Linked DNA regions of Homo sapiens: regions 1 and 3 are each linked to region 2. Evidence: promoter capture Hi-C in human tissues and cell types (Jung and others, 2019). All regions are on one chromosome and are shown on one strand. Each heading gives the region's core, a stretch centred on a gene start or on the middle of the fragment in contact. The rest is flanking DNA. Distances are from core to core; before and after follow the strand shown.

Region 1 (4,564 bases), core at 299-2,798, 540 kb after region 2:
TCACTGCAAGCTCCGCTTCCCGGGTTCACGCCATTCTCCTGCCTCAGCCTCCCGAGTAGCTGGGACTACAGGCGCCCGCCACCGCGCCCGGCTAATTTTTTGTATTTTTAGTAGAGACGGGGTTTCACCTTGTTAGCCAGGATGGTCTCGATCTCCTGACCTCATGATCCACCCGCCTCGGCCTTCCAAAGTGCTGGGATTACAGGCGTGAGCCACCGCGCCCGGCCTATTATTTTTTTTTGAGACAGAGTCTTGCTCTGTTGCCCAGGCTGGAGTGCAGTGGCACCATCTCAGCTCACTGCAAGCTCCTCCTCCCGGGTTCACACCATTCTCCCGACTCAGCCTCCCGAGTAGCTGGGACTACAGGTGCCTGCCACCACGCCCAGCTAATTTTTTTGTATTTTTTAGTAGAGATGGGGTTTCACCGTGTTAGCCAGGATGGTCTCCATCTCCCGACCTCATGATCCACCAGCCTCGGCCTCCCAAAGTGCTGCGATTACAGGCGTGAGCCACCGCGCCCGGCCGATTATATTTTTATATTTCATATTACACACTGACTTTAGAATCTGAACCTCAGAAAACGCCACTCCATCAAATTATACTCTCCCAGTGACAGATCCACTCTCAGTTCTTCCCCCATCCCACCCTCTTCCACTTGCTCTAGAGGTGATGGAAAGGGTCAGGATTTCTTCCACCATCTCTCCATGGAAGCTGTGCTGACCACAAGCATTTAGGATCTGACTTCCCCAGTTATGGAGAAAAAGAAAAGTGGCCATAGCCGTAACAGTAGTGACCTTCCCCGTCATGGTTTATAAGGGACTATTCCTCGGGTTCTTCATTCTTTCACTCACTCATGCATGGGTATGACCTATCTCAGGAGCTAGGCTTGAAGCCTCCTGGGGGTAAGGAGCATGTGGCACTCTGCTTTCCACACTCACATGGTTGACAGCACTGCAGCTGTTCCACAAATGGCCGGTGAGGACAGTTGGCCCTGCATTAACTGGCTGTTCAAAGAGTGCCATGCCTGTGTTCCTGGGCCTTCTCCTGCCTGTGTCTTGGGAACTGGGAGCATTCCTCTGTCTTCTTGGTGTTGTTTAACCCATGTTCTGCACTTAGAAAACAGTAAGTAATCTTGTTGGCCAACTGAGCCTGGGTAGGAAACTTTGGGGGCTTTGATAGCAATTAAGATCCACTAAGACTACAATGAGATAATACAATGGTAAAAGCTATTAAATACGCATCCCACTCTCTTCTTAAAGACCTCTTCTTCACCCCTAGTTTTTTTTGTTTTTTTGTTGTTGTTGTTGTTGTTAAGTTTCACCTTTTTAAATCTTTGAGTACTGCCTTAGGGAAACTGAGAAGATGGAGTCCTTGGTTTACAAATAGACCTGCTGAAACTGACGATTATGATGACTAATTATCAATGCAGGATGGCCAGTGGAAATGGAGAATGGGGTTTGTGCCTGACTCTTCCATTCAACAGCTGTGGGAACTTGGAGAAGGAACTTATCCTCTCTAAGCCTCAGTTAAAATGAGAGTTAGCACAGGTTTCCTTCCAAGCTTTAAATCCTTAACCATGGGATTATCGGAGATGCTGTTACTACAGTTACTATAAAACTGGGGCTGGATGATAACAGTCCGTAAGATCCTATCCAATTCTAAAAGTTGATTATTTTGTAAAATAGCACATCTGAAAAAATGTTGATTTATTAAACTCAGTTTATACATAACTTTTCAGAAATATGTAAATCCCAGTTTCACCCTTTTATGTTTATTAAGAACTTTCAATTAAAACTGACTTCAGGCCAGCCGCGGTGGCTCATGCCTGTAATCCCAGCACTTTGGGAGGCGGAGGAGGGCAGATCACCTGAAGTTGGGAGTTCGAGACCAGCCTGACCAACATGGAGAAACCCTGTCTCTACTAAAAATACAAAATTAGCCAGGTGTGGTGGCGCATGCCTGTAATCCCAGCTACTCGGGAGGCCGAGGTAGTAGAATCACTTGAACCCGGCAGGCAGAGATTATGGTGAGCCAAGATCGTGCCATTGCACTCCAGCCTGGGCAACAAGAGCGAAACTCTGTCTCAAAAAAAAAAAAAAAAAAAAAACTGACTTCAGGCCAGACACGGTGGCGCACGCCTGTAATCTCAACACTTTTTGAGGTTAGGGAGGCCAAGGCGGGTGGATCACCCGAAGTCAAGGGTTCAAGACCAGCCTGGCCAACATGGGGAAACCTTGTCTTTACTAAAAACACAAAAATTAGACGGGCGTGGTGGCAGACATCCATAATCCCAGCTACTCAGGAAGCTGAGGCAGGAGAATCGCTTGAACCTGGGGTGCGGAGGTTGCAGTGAGCCAAGATCACACCACTTCACTCCAGCCTGGGTAGAGTAAAAAACAGGAATCTACCAGATTCTATTTTTAAATAAAACAAAACGTTAAAAGAATCTAGCTTATACGTGCATTTTATAGTATGTGAATTATTTTTCAAAAAAGAAAGAATCTGGCTTATGAGGCAAGGTTGTGATTAACAGCATGAGGACTGGCTAAAGGCAACACAGTCCTCCTAGCCAAGTCCAATGCTAGGGTTCAGCCAGGATCTCCCCAAAACTCAGTTTTATAGTTTAGCCTGGTTTTGTAAGTTCAACACCTATTTGGGCAAAACAAGCATGCGGCCAACCAGGAAGCCTCACTTTGCCCTCCTCACAGTCTATATATATATATAGATATATGAAGAGAGAGAGAGAATCTCTGTCACCCAAGCTGGAGTGCAGTGGCATGCAATCCTCCTACCTCAGCCTCCCAAGTAACTGGGACTACAGGCACGTGCCACCGTGCCTGACTAATTTTTTGCATTTTTTTACAGAGAAGGGGTCTTGCCACATTGCCTAGGCTGGTCTTGAACTTCTAGGCTCAAGTGATCCTTCCGCCTCAGCCTCCCAAAGTGCTGGGATTATTGGCATAAGCCACCGCACCTGGCTGTCTTCACAAGTCTTGCCTGCAAGTTGGTCCTACCTCCTTCTATCAGATTGGTTCCTCAGAAGGTCAGGCCAACCCAAGTAACAAACTATCTCACCTCAGAGCCAGAGCAGAGGTGTAGGGCATCACAGGGCAGGCTGACTGGGACAAAAGGAGCCAGGGCCAAAGCTGGGAAGATACTGACAGTCAGGAAAGAGATGCTGGAAATGGAGCAAAACAATGAGGTGCAAAGCCAGGAGGAGCCTGAGGGCAGCTAACAGGCAGAGGAGGCAGGCTTGGCTTAATGCTCAGAATTGAGACCAGGAACCACGGCCTTTGGTGCTTGGCTTGGGTGTCCAAGTGGACGAAATCTGATGGCCACTGCTCTTTGTATCAGCATCACAAAACATTTATTGAGACTTGCTATGAGTGGGGCACCAGACCTGGGGATACAAAGATATATAAAACAGGGCTTCCAGTTTAGTTGAAGAATTGTAGTATTTATTCACCCAAAGGCTCATTTAATTTGCTGAACAGGGGATATGATCAAAGTCATGGCCCAAAAGAGAAAGTGAAAATTCTTAGACCAGGACTCAAGGTTTTCCTCAGCACAGGGCCCAGGGTGATGTTGCTGGAGTCCCGGGGGAGGCCCACAGGGTGGGACAGGGAGAAATTCTCAAGGAGGAGGACACAAACAGGACTGGAAGGGGAGCAGGACTGAGCCAAGCGGATGAGAGGAAAGAGGCATTCCAGTCCTCTGGGGAAGCATGGGAGGTAGGAATTCTTGCCATCAGTGGTTTGGACAAACACACAGAGTGGGTCACCGGGTCAGAGCCGAGGGTTAGGACGGGAGAGGAGCAAAGGTCAGACCCCTGTGGAGAAGGGCCCTAACTGCCGGCCTAGAAGTTTGATCCTTACCATGCAGACAGTGGGGAGCCATTGAAGGTTGCTGAGCAGGAAGGTGACCCTTGCAAAGAGGCATTTTAAGTGAGATTACAGAGCAGGCCTTTATCCGAAGCTTATTCAAAGCCCTGTGTGTATTTCAAGTGGCACTTGAGACAGAAAGTCGTAAAGCGTTTGCCCTGTGTCATGCAGACGAGAAAGAAGAAGGTTTAAGGGGCTCACAAAGAGATGCTTCAGTGAGAACAAGAAATGAAGAGGGGCACATTTTAAAGAAGGAAACAAATCTGCAGGACAGAACTGCCAGCCGTGGTGTCTGGAAAACTGTAGCGTGTTCTTAAGCGACTAGAATGCCCTCTTTAGCTGGGGGTGTTCGGCCTCCTTTTTTGGAGGTGGGTTGTGATGTCAAAACACTGGGTTGTGGTATAGGAAGTGGGGCAGCTAGGAAGGGGCAGATTAATGGAAATAGCAATACTGGGCCTGGGCAGCCTCCCTTTGAAGACCACCCTCTCCAGGAGACTCCTGCATTGGCTTCTCTCAGTGGCACCTCGGGGTTTCCGCCAGAGTTGCTGGGTTGCCTAATTACCTCCAATATTTTTTCCTCTTAGAACAATAAAACTGGTTTTAAAATCTCTTGTCAAGTTTTGAATCAGCGCTTTTTCACTGTTGTTCCTAATTGTGCATGGCGAGGCAGCAGCCAGGGCTGC
Region 2 (4,858 bases), core at 2,261-4,760:
GCCACCATGAACCTCTGGTCCAGGGTATAACATGAAAATGGATCTCTGCCCTTGCAATGTTCACAATTATGAGAGAGAAAGAGAAACAACTACATCACTGCAGTAGTTTGAAAGTGCTAGGGCAAAGCCCGGCACCGATGGGAGTGCAGAGCCAGATGTACAGGAAGGCTTCCTGGAGGAGGTGAATCCTGGGAGCCCCGAGGCTCTTGGCATTTTGCCCTCTCTCTTCTCTCCAGCCTTCCATCCCAACCCAACCACACAAAGAGATCTGGCCACTTCTTTCTTAGCCTCATCCTTAGATCTGCAATCTGTGGAGATATGAAAATGTAGAGAATTGAGGATACACATGGCGGGAGCACAGGACAGAAATTTAACAAAAATTTTTTTAGAGACAGGGTCTTGCTCTGCTGCCCGGGCTGGAGTGCAGTGGTGCAATCATAGCTCGCTGCAGCCTCGACATCCCAGGCTCAATTGATCCTCCTGCCTCAGCCTTCCAAGTAGCTTGGCCAGTGGTACCCGACCTTTTTGGCACCAGGGACCAGTTTTATGGAAGAGAATTTTTTCAGGTCTGGGAGCGGGGTGGGATGGTTTCGGGAAGAAACTGTTCCAGTCTAAAGCCTGATCCTGTTCAGATCATCAGGCATCAGAGTCTCCTAAGGAATGCACACCCTAGGTCCCTTGCATGAGTAGTTCACAACAGGGTTCATGCTCCCGTGGGAATCTAATGCTGCCACTGACCTGACAGGTGGCGGGGCTCAGGCAGTAATGCTTGCTCACCTCCTGCTGTGTGCCCGTTCCTAACAGGCCATGGACAGGTACCGGTCCGTGGCCTGGGGATTGAGGACCCCTATCTTGGACTGCAGGCAACTGCCACCATACCTGGCTAATTAAAAAAAAAATTGTAGAGATGGAGGGTCTCACTGTGTTGCCCTGGCTAGTTTTGAACTCCTAGACTTAAGCAATCCTCCCTCCTCAGCCTCTCAAAGTATTGGGACTCCAGGCATGAGCCACTGCGCCCAGATCAGAACTAACTTTTATTCTGCATCTAGTAGGAATTTTATGGAAACCAGTTACTTCCCTACTCTACCACCTGCTGTATGAGTCTCAAGTGAGCAAGTTGTGGCTTAAGGAGGTGACCCGACCTGCCCAAGTACACACACAGTGAGAAGCAGAGCAGCCTTCCAGTCCAGGTCTGCCTCCGCCCCAGGCTACCCCAAACCCCCAATGCGAGGGCGTCTCAGGTGCAGACACTGAGTGGCATAGAGCCAGCACAGAGGGGACTTGACAATAGGAAGGAAGGTCTTACACTTTTTCCTGGAATCTTCTTTCTAAACCACCCTATTTTAATGCATCAGTTCTGTTCACATCTCTGTGAGGTAAGCAGAGGAGAAATGAGGCTTAAAGAGAATATTCCTGCCCAAGCCAGTAATTGCTAGGGCCTGGCTGGTGGGTCTAAGACAGTCCCTTACCACTGAGTGTGGGTTCTGCCTCCCAACCTCAGAGTCCTCTTTGCAGCTGGCGTGAGGCATAAGAAATCACAGCCCTGGGTGTCTGAGAAGAAAGGATCATAGGAAAAGCAGGGACACAGCAGGAAAGTGAGCTCCTTGGGCCTCAGCTTCCCCCACCCTGCAGCGGGAGAAGCATTTTCCTCCCACTTAACAGAGGACCTTTGACCAAGCTCAGAAAAGTCCCAGCTGGTGGGGGCAGGGAGTGGGGCTTGTTGAATGGAAGAAGCGCTTTTCCTCTTTAGAGAGGCTGCATGATTCCACTCCCCTTTCTCTGCCAAGCTTTATCTTTGCTTAAGAATTCACACAACTCCCCAGGGGCCCCGCTACAGCTGCTGCTCCTCCTGTCTTCATTGATAGGTAAGAAATGCACCTGATTTAAACTGATTTAAACTGGCCATGTTCTAATAAGCATTTTGTCCAAACAGGCAGCTGCTGGAGCCAGGGGGCTGAAGTGGGGCTGAGCTTCCCGCTGGTGACTTCTCTTTGCCCAAATGAGGCCAAGGGAGAAGTGGCAGGGCCAGCAAGGGGCTAAAGGCAGAACAGCGTGGGGGAAGGGGACCAGCCTTTGCCACCACCCCACCCCCAACCTCTCCCCAACTTCTTCCCCCCAACCTCCCTCGTGTCCAGGACCAGTTTCTAAAGATGAGTGAATTCCAGTTTCAAAAAAAGAATGGTAGGCAAAGAGTGTCTTGGTTGTGAAAAAGGACAACCAGGAAAACAAATGAAGTTGATCACATGCGTTGAGCCCCTGCCTTGATGCTAATTAGTGCCCTGGCACAGGTGGTGGGGCTGCATTGCAGGCCCTGCCCCCCGGGACTCACAGCTGAGCAAATCACAGCAACAGGGACAGAAACCGAGGGAGCAGGACATGCACCCCATCGGCCTGGGGTGGTGTGGAGACGGCTTCAAAAGCAGGTGACATGCTGGGCACGGTGGCACTTTGGCAGGCCACGGTGGGAAGATTGCTTGAGCTCAGGAGTTCGAGACCAGGTTGGGCGAGACCTTGTTTCTATTTAAAAAAAGAAGAAGAAGGCTGGGCGCAGTGGCTCACGTCTGTAATCCCAGCACTTTGGGAGTCCGAGGTGGGTGGATCACCTGAAGTCAGGAGTTGGAGACCAGTCTGGCCAACAAGGTGAAAACCTGTCTCTACTAAAAATACAAAAATTAGCCAGGCATCATACAGACGCCTGTAATCCCAGCTACTAGGGAGGCTGAGGCTGGAGAATCGCTTGAACCCAGGAGGCGGAGGTTGCAGTGAGCCAAGATCTAGCCATTGCTCTCTACCCTGGGCAACAAGAGTGAAACTCCGTCTAAAAAAAAAAAAAAGAAAAGGAGGGAGGAAAGTAGAAAGAAAGAAAAGAAAGAGGAAGAAAGGGAGGGAGGAAAGTAGAAAGAAAGAAAAGAGGAAGGGAGGGAGGGAAAGAAAGAAGAAAGTGAGGGAGGAAAGTAGAAAGAAAGAAAAGAGGAAGGGAGGGAGGGAAAGAAAGAAGAAAGGAAGGAAAGTGACATTTGACCAAGGTTTTGAGGGCTGACTACGGGTTTGAGAGGTAGAGGGGATTGGGAGAGCGCATTCTGAGTGAGAAAACGTGCTGGGAGATGGGTAACAGCAGCGTGTGCGGAGAAACTCAGTTGCGGCTGAAGAATAGGATCCAGGGGTGGAGAAGGTGGTGGCTGGACACAGGTGTGTTGTGTGTAGGATAGGCATGAAGAGGAGCGGATAGGGCAAAGCTAGAAGGCTTGGGCAAGGGGAAATGGGATTGGAGAGGTGACTGGCGCTGACCCAAGAGAGGACAGACGGGGTGACCAGAGTGGAGGATGAGCCAAGCCTTGGCACAGACCCAAGCGGGTGGAGGCCCCGGGCAACACCGGTCACCACGAGGGCCTCTACGAAGGGCTCTGTCCTCCCACGGGGATTGGAGGTGGGTAAGTGAGACAGGGCGGGGTGGAGGGTGAGGCCAGGCAGCGGCGGAGAGAGAAAGTCCCACCCCTGCGGGCGTTCCTTGCGGCCCGGCCGACCTCGCGGGCTTGGGCCTGGGCGGGCACCGACGGAGCGGCCCTGGCTGCAGCCTCCCGGCGCCAGCGAAGACAGGTAGGGAGGCGGAGGGACTGGAAGCCCCCGGGCGCCCAGCGGCGGGGACCCCGCACCCCGGGGCTTCTGCAGGAATTTGCTCGCCTGGCTCACGGCGACGGGGGTGTCGGAGAAAGTGGGGGCCGCAGAGAAGACCCCGCCCCGGCTCGCTCTCCGGAGGTGGGCGCAGGGTCATCGCTCGGCACCGCGCGCCCCCCGGCCTGGAGGAAAGGAAATGCAGAGAGCCGGGGAGCTGGTGCGGGACGGCCCCGGCGCGCACCCTCCGCCCGCTCGGACCTTCCCTTCAGGCGAATGCCGCTCCCGGCGCGTGGTACAAGCGAGGCCCTGGAGACCGTGCGCCCCTCCCGGGAGGTGCCACTGGGCCGCGGGCCTGGAGCGTCCGGGAGCCCCAGCGGCTGCCGGCACCTGCGCGGCCACCCCGGGCCTCCCGTGGGAACCGCGCCTCTCCGCCTCGGGGGTGCGCGGCGCGTTCCTGGGGTGGGGACGCGGGGTGCCTGGTCAGGGCTGGACCGATGCAGAGGGGGGCCGTGGGCGGGGGCCACGGGGACGGGCGTCTGCGGACTGCGGCGGTCCCGGAGTCGGCTGGGGACCCTGTAGGGGGAGGCTTGGTCGGCGGCCACCCGCCTTCCCGCCCTCTGGCGCCTAGGGTCGCCGCCTTCGGCCCTAGCTCAAGGCAGACGCGTTCCCCGGGAACAACACGTTGAGGGCGCCCACCCTGCGTGCCCGGGGCCACCCGGTCCCTGCCCTCGGGCGGCAGGAGAGGTCGAGCTTCCACGGCCCTCGGAGTAGCCCCGTGACCAGACCCGGACTGGCCTTGGAGTTGAAGGGGTTGTTTGCCACCAAATGAACCGAAAAAACTGAACTTTTCAGACTTCGGAATGGCAGATATGGGCTTGGAGTTCAGTGAAATTGCAGCGGAGGCGGTGGTGTTCTGAGTAATTACAAGTAAAATTCTTCTTTCACCCGTCTTTTCCTCAGCCTCGCCCGCCCTAGCAGGCCTAGCCTGGCCCTAGCAGGGGGCTCCTGCTCTGGGAGCTGCCCCCAGCAGAGCAGAGGCAGGGCTCTGGCAGCAACCCCCTTCCCTCACCCTCCAACCCCAGGAATCTCGAACTTGACCACGAAAATAATGACTCAATGACTCACTGTGCCAAATTAACGAGTGTGTACATTGTTCAGTATGCCAGGTTACATTTCTGCTGAGCTTGGCTTCTGTATGCTGTCTTTTATCCTTGTAAGCAGAAGTCATTTTATATCTTTAAAA
Region 3 (5,033 bases), core at 2,065-4,564, 780 kb after region 2:
AGTGGCTTATTCCAAGTTTAAAAGCATTAGTGTTCTAAACAATGAAACAAGGAAAATTTATTTAGTAATAATTCCTGGAACTTCATAGTAAAGGCACCTACCAGTAACTGTGGAAGGAAATGCTACCAGATAAACTACTAAATAGCAACTTCCTACTCTACTATCTGTACTATCAGTTGTTGCTCACCAGCAGATGACAGTAACAACATCCAGTTCTTTGGTAGAAAATGAGGGGATTCAGAAGAATGTAGACTCTATATCCACCTCTACCAGAGTATGAAATCTTGGCATTTCCCTGAGCCATATTCATGTCACAACAGCTTTATCTACAAAATCAAACTTAGTCAATAAAAAATATATATAATACAATAAAATAAACTAGGCCAAGTGTGGCGACTCATGCCTGTAATCCCAGCACTTTGGGAGGCCAAGGCAGGAGGATCACCTGAGCTCAGGAGTTCAAGACCAGCCTAGGCAACATGGCAAAACCCTGTCTCTACAAAAAATACAAAATTAGCCAGGCATGGTGGTGCATGCCTACAGTCCCAGCTATGCCAGAGGCTGAGGTGGGAGGATCACTTAAGTCCAGGAGGTCGAAGCTGTAATGAGCCATGATCCTGCCACTGTACTCCAGCATGGTTAAGAGTAAGACCCTATCTCAAAAAAACCATCAAAAAACCCAAAAACCAATAAAAGAAACTATAAAGTACTATAACTAAGGTACTACGCATACATTAATAATCTTGTTATAGTCAAATTTTTATGTTCATACATTAATCTGTAAGCCTATGTTCAAATGAGGAGTCTTGGACTGACTTTCATATTATAAAGTTACCAATTTCTAGAATAAATTCCAAATATACAGCCTGTGACAGAAGATGCCCTACTCTCTTTTCTGCAGCTTATCAACAGTGTGCTTTTTCAGAACCTTACACATACAAAATTAATGGTAACTTTATAGATTTTACATCAGAGATAAACTCTTCAATATATGGCGATTCCGCCTATGGACTCACGGGAGTGTGAAAGTATACCAGAAATACACTCAGAAAAAGCTATGATCGGCCAGGCGTGGTGGCTCACGCCTGTAATCCCAGTACTTTGGTAGGCCGAGGCGGGCGGATCACCTGAGGTTGGAAGTTCGAGACTAGCCTGACCAAAATGGAGAAACCCCGTGTCTACTAAAATTACAAAAGTAGCCGGGCATGGTGGCGCATGCCTGGATTCCCAGCTACTCGGGAGGCTGAGGCAGGAGAATTGCTTGAACCTGGGAGGTGGAGGCTGCGGTGGGCCGAGATCGTGCTATTGCACTCCAGCCTGGGAAACAAGAGCGAAACTCCATCTCAAAAAAAAAGAAAAGAAAAAGCCATGATCATGCTGGCAGATGGTATGTATAATAAGGTTTACGCCAGCCTGACCAACATGGAGAAACCCTGTCTCTACTAAAAATACAAAATTAGCCAGGGATGGTGGTGTGTGCCTGTAATCCCAGCTACTCGGGAGGCTGAGGCAGGAGAATCGCTTGAACTGGGAGGTGGAGGTTGCGGTGAGCCGAGATCGTGCCATTGCACTCCAGCCTGGGCAACAAGAGCAAAACTCTGTCTCAAAAAAAAAAAAAAAAAATTTTACAGCCGGGGGCGGTGGCTCATGCCTGTAAATCTCAACACTTTGGGAGACCAAGGCGGGTGGATCACCTGAGGCCAGGAGTTCAAGACCAGCCTGGCTAGCATGGTGAAACTCTGTCTCTACCAAAAATACAAAAATTAGCCTGGCATGGTGGCACGCACCTATAGTCTGTTACTGGGGAGGCTGAGGCAGGAGAATTGCTTGAACCCGGGAGGCAGAGGTTGTGGTGAGCCGAGATTGCGCCATTGCACTCCAGCCTAGGCAACAAGAGCAAAACTCTTGTCTCAAAAAAAAGGTTTACAGCCGGGGCGGTGGCCCACGCCTGTAATCTCAACACTTTGGGAGGCCGAGGCAGGTGGATCACCTGAGGCCAGGAGTTCGAGACCAGCCTGGCCAGCATGGTGAAACTCCATCTCTACCAAAAATACAAAAATTAGCCGGGTGTGGTGGCATGCACCTGTAGTCCCACTTACTGGGGAGGCTGAGGCAGGAGAATCGCTTGAACCAAGGAGGTGGAGGTTGCAGGGAGCCGAGATGCCCCACTGCACTCCAGCCTGGGTGACAGAAGACTCTCTCTCAGAAAAAAAAAAAAAAAAGTTTACAAGGCTTATCATTACCAAATCGGCATGTTCCCTCAGAAGAAACAGAAATTCAGAAACAGAAACTATGCAAGTGGGAAACAAGGCGGAGGGGAGTAATTAGAGGTCAAAGACATCGGGAAGGAGTGTACGGATTAAGTCCTCCCTAGAGAAATGGTGACGAAGGATCTACAACCACATTTAAAATAAACTTTTTAATTTGAAATGGAGTATAACAGAGCAGAGCTTCAACCACAAGTCTCCTAACTATTGGCTTGGCACTCAGAATACCGTACCTTCCTTAATGACTCACTGACTGACTCTCATTGAAAAATGAGAATACTTGTGAGTACACTCCTTTTCAGAGGTGTATTCGGGATTTCAGGAGTCGGGGAGGCAAGTTGAAGAGCTTCCAACTTTATGCAACTTTCAGGAAAGAAGGCTGCGGACCGGTATTAGCAAATGGAAATCCGGGGGGCGGTCGTGGGCAGGAAGTATCGGCCACACAGGACCTAGTGAGGCCGAGGACCCTGCTCCCGACCTCGGTGGCAGCACTCCCCTCCCCGCCCGGCTCCCTGGCGTGCCGCTGCTCTTCGGAGGCTGGCAGCCTCGCCCTCAACCACCGCCCTCGGGAAAGTCCTCGACTGCCTATCAAAAAACATTTGGCCTGGGACGTCCGCTGGCTGCACTATCCCTTACAGAATCAGCAAGGGTGAAAAGCCAGGAAAGAGATGCAACCCAAAGGAGTAAGGCAGTGCCGGGAGCGGCAGAAGCGGAGCGGGGGCGAGGGCAAGGTAGCCGCGGCCACGCTGGCTGCGGCATGGAGACACGGGAGGAACGGGACCCGCGGGCGGCACGGGAAAGGGCTGCGGCTCAGACCACTGCGGCGGGACGGGCGGATCAGCGGGGATCTAAGTCTCCTGAGGCAAGGGCGCCCCGACCGCAGCGACTCCTGACACACCCAGGCCGCAGGACGAAGCGCTACCGCCTGGGGCTGCCAGCTCCCGCCTCCCGCCCGCAGAGCCCGGGCCCCACGTAGAGGATCCGGCGCCGCCGACACTCGCACACTCACCGCGCGCGCGCCACCCTTGCGCGGCAGCCCGCCGCCCTCGGCGCGACCTCCGCCCCACCCCGCGCGCCGCGGCGCCTGGGCTACGTCACGGGCGCGTGCGCTCTCCGCGCGCCGTCAGCGGCGCGGGTGGGGCATTGCCAGCTCGGCGTCCCGGTTCCCTTGGAGACAGAGCTGGCCAGGGCGGCCGCGGCTGGGCAACTACGACAGCGGAGCCCCTGGGGAAGCCAAGATGCCGTCGAAGGGAAAGGACAAAAAGAAAGGCAAGAGCAAAGGCAAAGACACGAAGTAAGGAGAAGCCACCCGAGAGTCCCCTCTCCCTGGGCCTGCCTGGGATTTCGGGTCTGGGGCTGGCAACCTGGCGCCCCCCGCGCCGGCCCACTCGGACCCTCTCCCCGGCTCTCCCGGCTTGTGAGGATTACAGCTCCCATGTCCATAGTCTGGCAGATCTCTACTATGTGTTCAGATTATCTTAAACGTGTAGAGGATGTATAAAGTAGTTCCTTGGGCCTTTTCAGAGATCTCTTTTGGTTCAAAGGGGACACCTAAAGTATTTTACCAAGTTGGATAATTATTGAGGTTTTCCCAAACTGATCAGAGCCACTGAGGTGGGTAATGTTCTAGCACTAACCCCTTACAGGCCTGGAGTTGCTGCTAGATTGCTACTAGCCCTATTGGGGGACCCCGGTGGTTTCTGGACACGTTGGAGTCATACGTGGTGTCCAGCAACAACACCATATATGGGAACACAGAGTTGGCACCAAACTTGAGATGTTTGTAAAGTAACTTAAGAGAGTAATTCATGCTCAATACAGAAAGTTTGGGAAACATGGGAAGTACCAAAAGAAAAAACAAAAATCACCTGTAGTCTCATTATCCAAAAATAAACACTACTATATTTTGGAGTATTCTTTTTTAATAAAACGATAGCCCAATGTACATACTTATATGTGGCTTTTTTCTTCCCATTTGTTAATGTAAGTATTCTTTTATGGTATTTTTTTTTTGTTTTTACATAACTGCACAGTTAGTCTAGCCCTTAAAGTGCCAAGGGCTTATCACATTCCTAGAACTCACTAACATATGTTTTCAGATTTTGACCATGCTTCTACAGTACACATTTGAACAATGAGGAACACTAAGGGTAAGAGACCTTATTCCTTGGATTTTCCATGACCCATTGTTTGAGAAACCTGGCTTTGTTTCTACAGTGAGTATCAGTGGTCCTATTAGAGTGTCTAATTTCTTGCATCAAGTACTTTTTTTTTTTTCTTGACACCAAGTTTTGCTCTTGTTGCCCAAGCCGGAGTGCAATGGCACGATCTCAGCTCACTGCAACCTCTGCCTTCTGGGTTCAACCAATTCTCCTGCCTCAGCCTCCCGAGTAGCTGTGATTACAGGCACCCGTCACCACGCCCAGCTAATTTTTTTATTTTTAGTGGAGACAGGGTTTCACCATGTTGGCCAGGCTGGTCTCGAACTCCTGACTTCAGGTGATCCACCCGCCTCGGCCTCCCAAAGTGCTGGGATGACAGCCGTGAGCCACCATGCCCTGTCGCATCAAGTACTTCGAGCCACTCAGACCTGATACCTGGATGGTCGTAGTGAGACAGTGTATCACTAGTGCCTAAATCATGCCAGAAAGGGACATCAACAGCTATAACAGGCTGAGGGGTTGGGAATGGAGCTGGCCTTAATTTGAAGAGAACAAAAGGTGAAAGTGGGACTTTGGTTCTCTCCACTGCAAACCCATTACCTCT

The links. The method cuts DNA at HindIII sites, captures the fragments that hold promoters and counts their contacts. A contact is called where the count stands out against the background at its distance.
Region 1: a contact is called between a fragment that was not itself captured here and the fragment with the promoter of PAPLN in region 2, in 1 of the 25 tissues and cell types used here (dorsolateral prefrontal cortex).
Region 3: a contact is called between the fragment with the promoter of ENTPD5 here and the fragment with the promoter of PAPLN in region 2, in 2 of the 25 tissues and cell types used here (mesendoderm cells and spleen).

The regions. Positions count from the first base shown.
Region 1 is chr14:73,779,650-73,784,213 of GRCh38, forward strand. It overlaps a transcript of MIDEAS not described here. Among named protein-coding and RNA genes, the nearest start is that of MIDEAS-AS1, 5.4 kb to the right of the region's middle. The HindIII fragment of the contact is 5,805 bases long and covers 1-4,451 here.
Region 2 is chr14:73,233,996-73,238,853 of GRCh38, forward strand. PAPLN (papilin, proteoglycan like sulfated glycoprotein) reads left to right here and starts at 3,511. Exons shown (of 27, transcript NM_001365906.3): 1 at 3,511-3,597. RefSeq lists enhancers at 1,784-2,356, 2,357-2,928, 3,502-4,072 and a silencer at 2,146-2,440. The HindIII fragment of the contact is 14,518 bases long and covers 520-4,858 here.
Region 3 is chr14:74,015,974-74,021,006 of GRCh38, forward strand. It overlaps ENTPD5 (ectonucleoside triphosphate diphosphohydrolase 5 (inactive)), which reads right to left and starts at 3,315. Exons shown (of 16, transcript NM_001249.5): 1 at 3,277-3,315. BBOF1 (basal body orientation factor 1) reads left to right here and starts at 3,376. Exons shown (of 12, transcript NM_025057.3): 1 at 3,376-3,561. The coding sequence starts at 3,506. RefSeq lists silencers at 2,673-2,967, 2,883-2,952, 2,993-3,132, 3,143-3,212, 3,243-3,492. The HindIII fragment of the contact is 17,677 bases long and covers 1-5,033 here.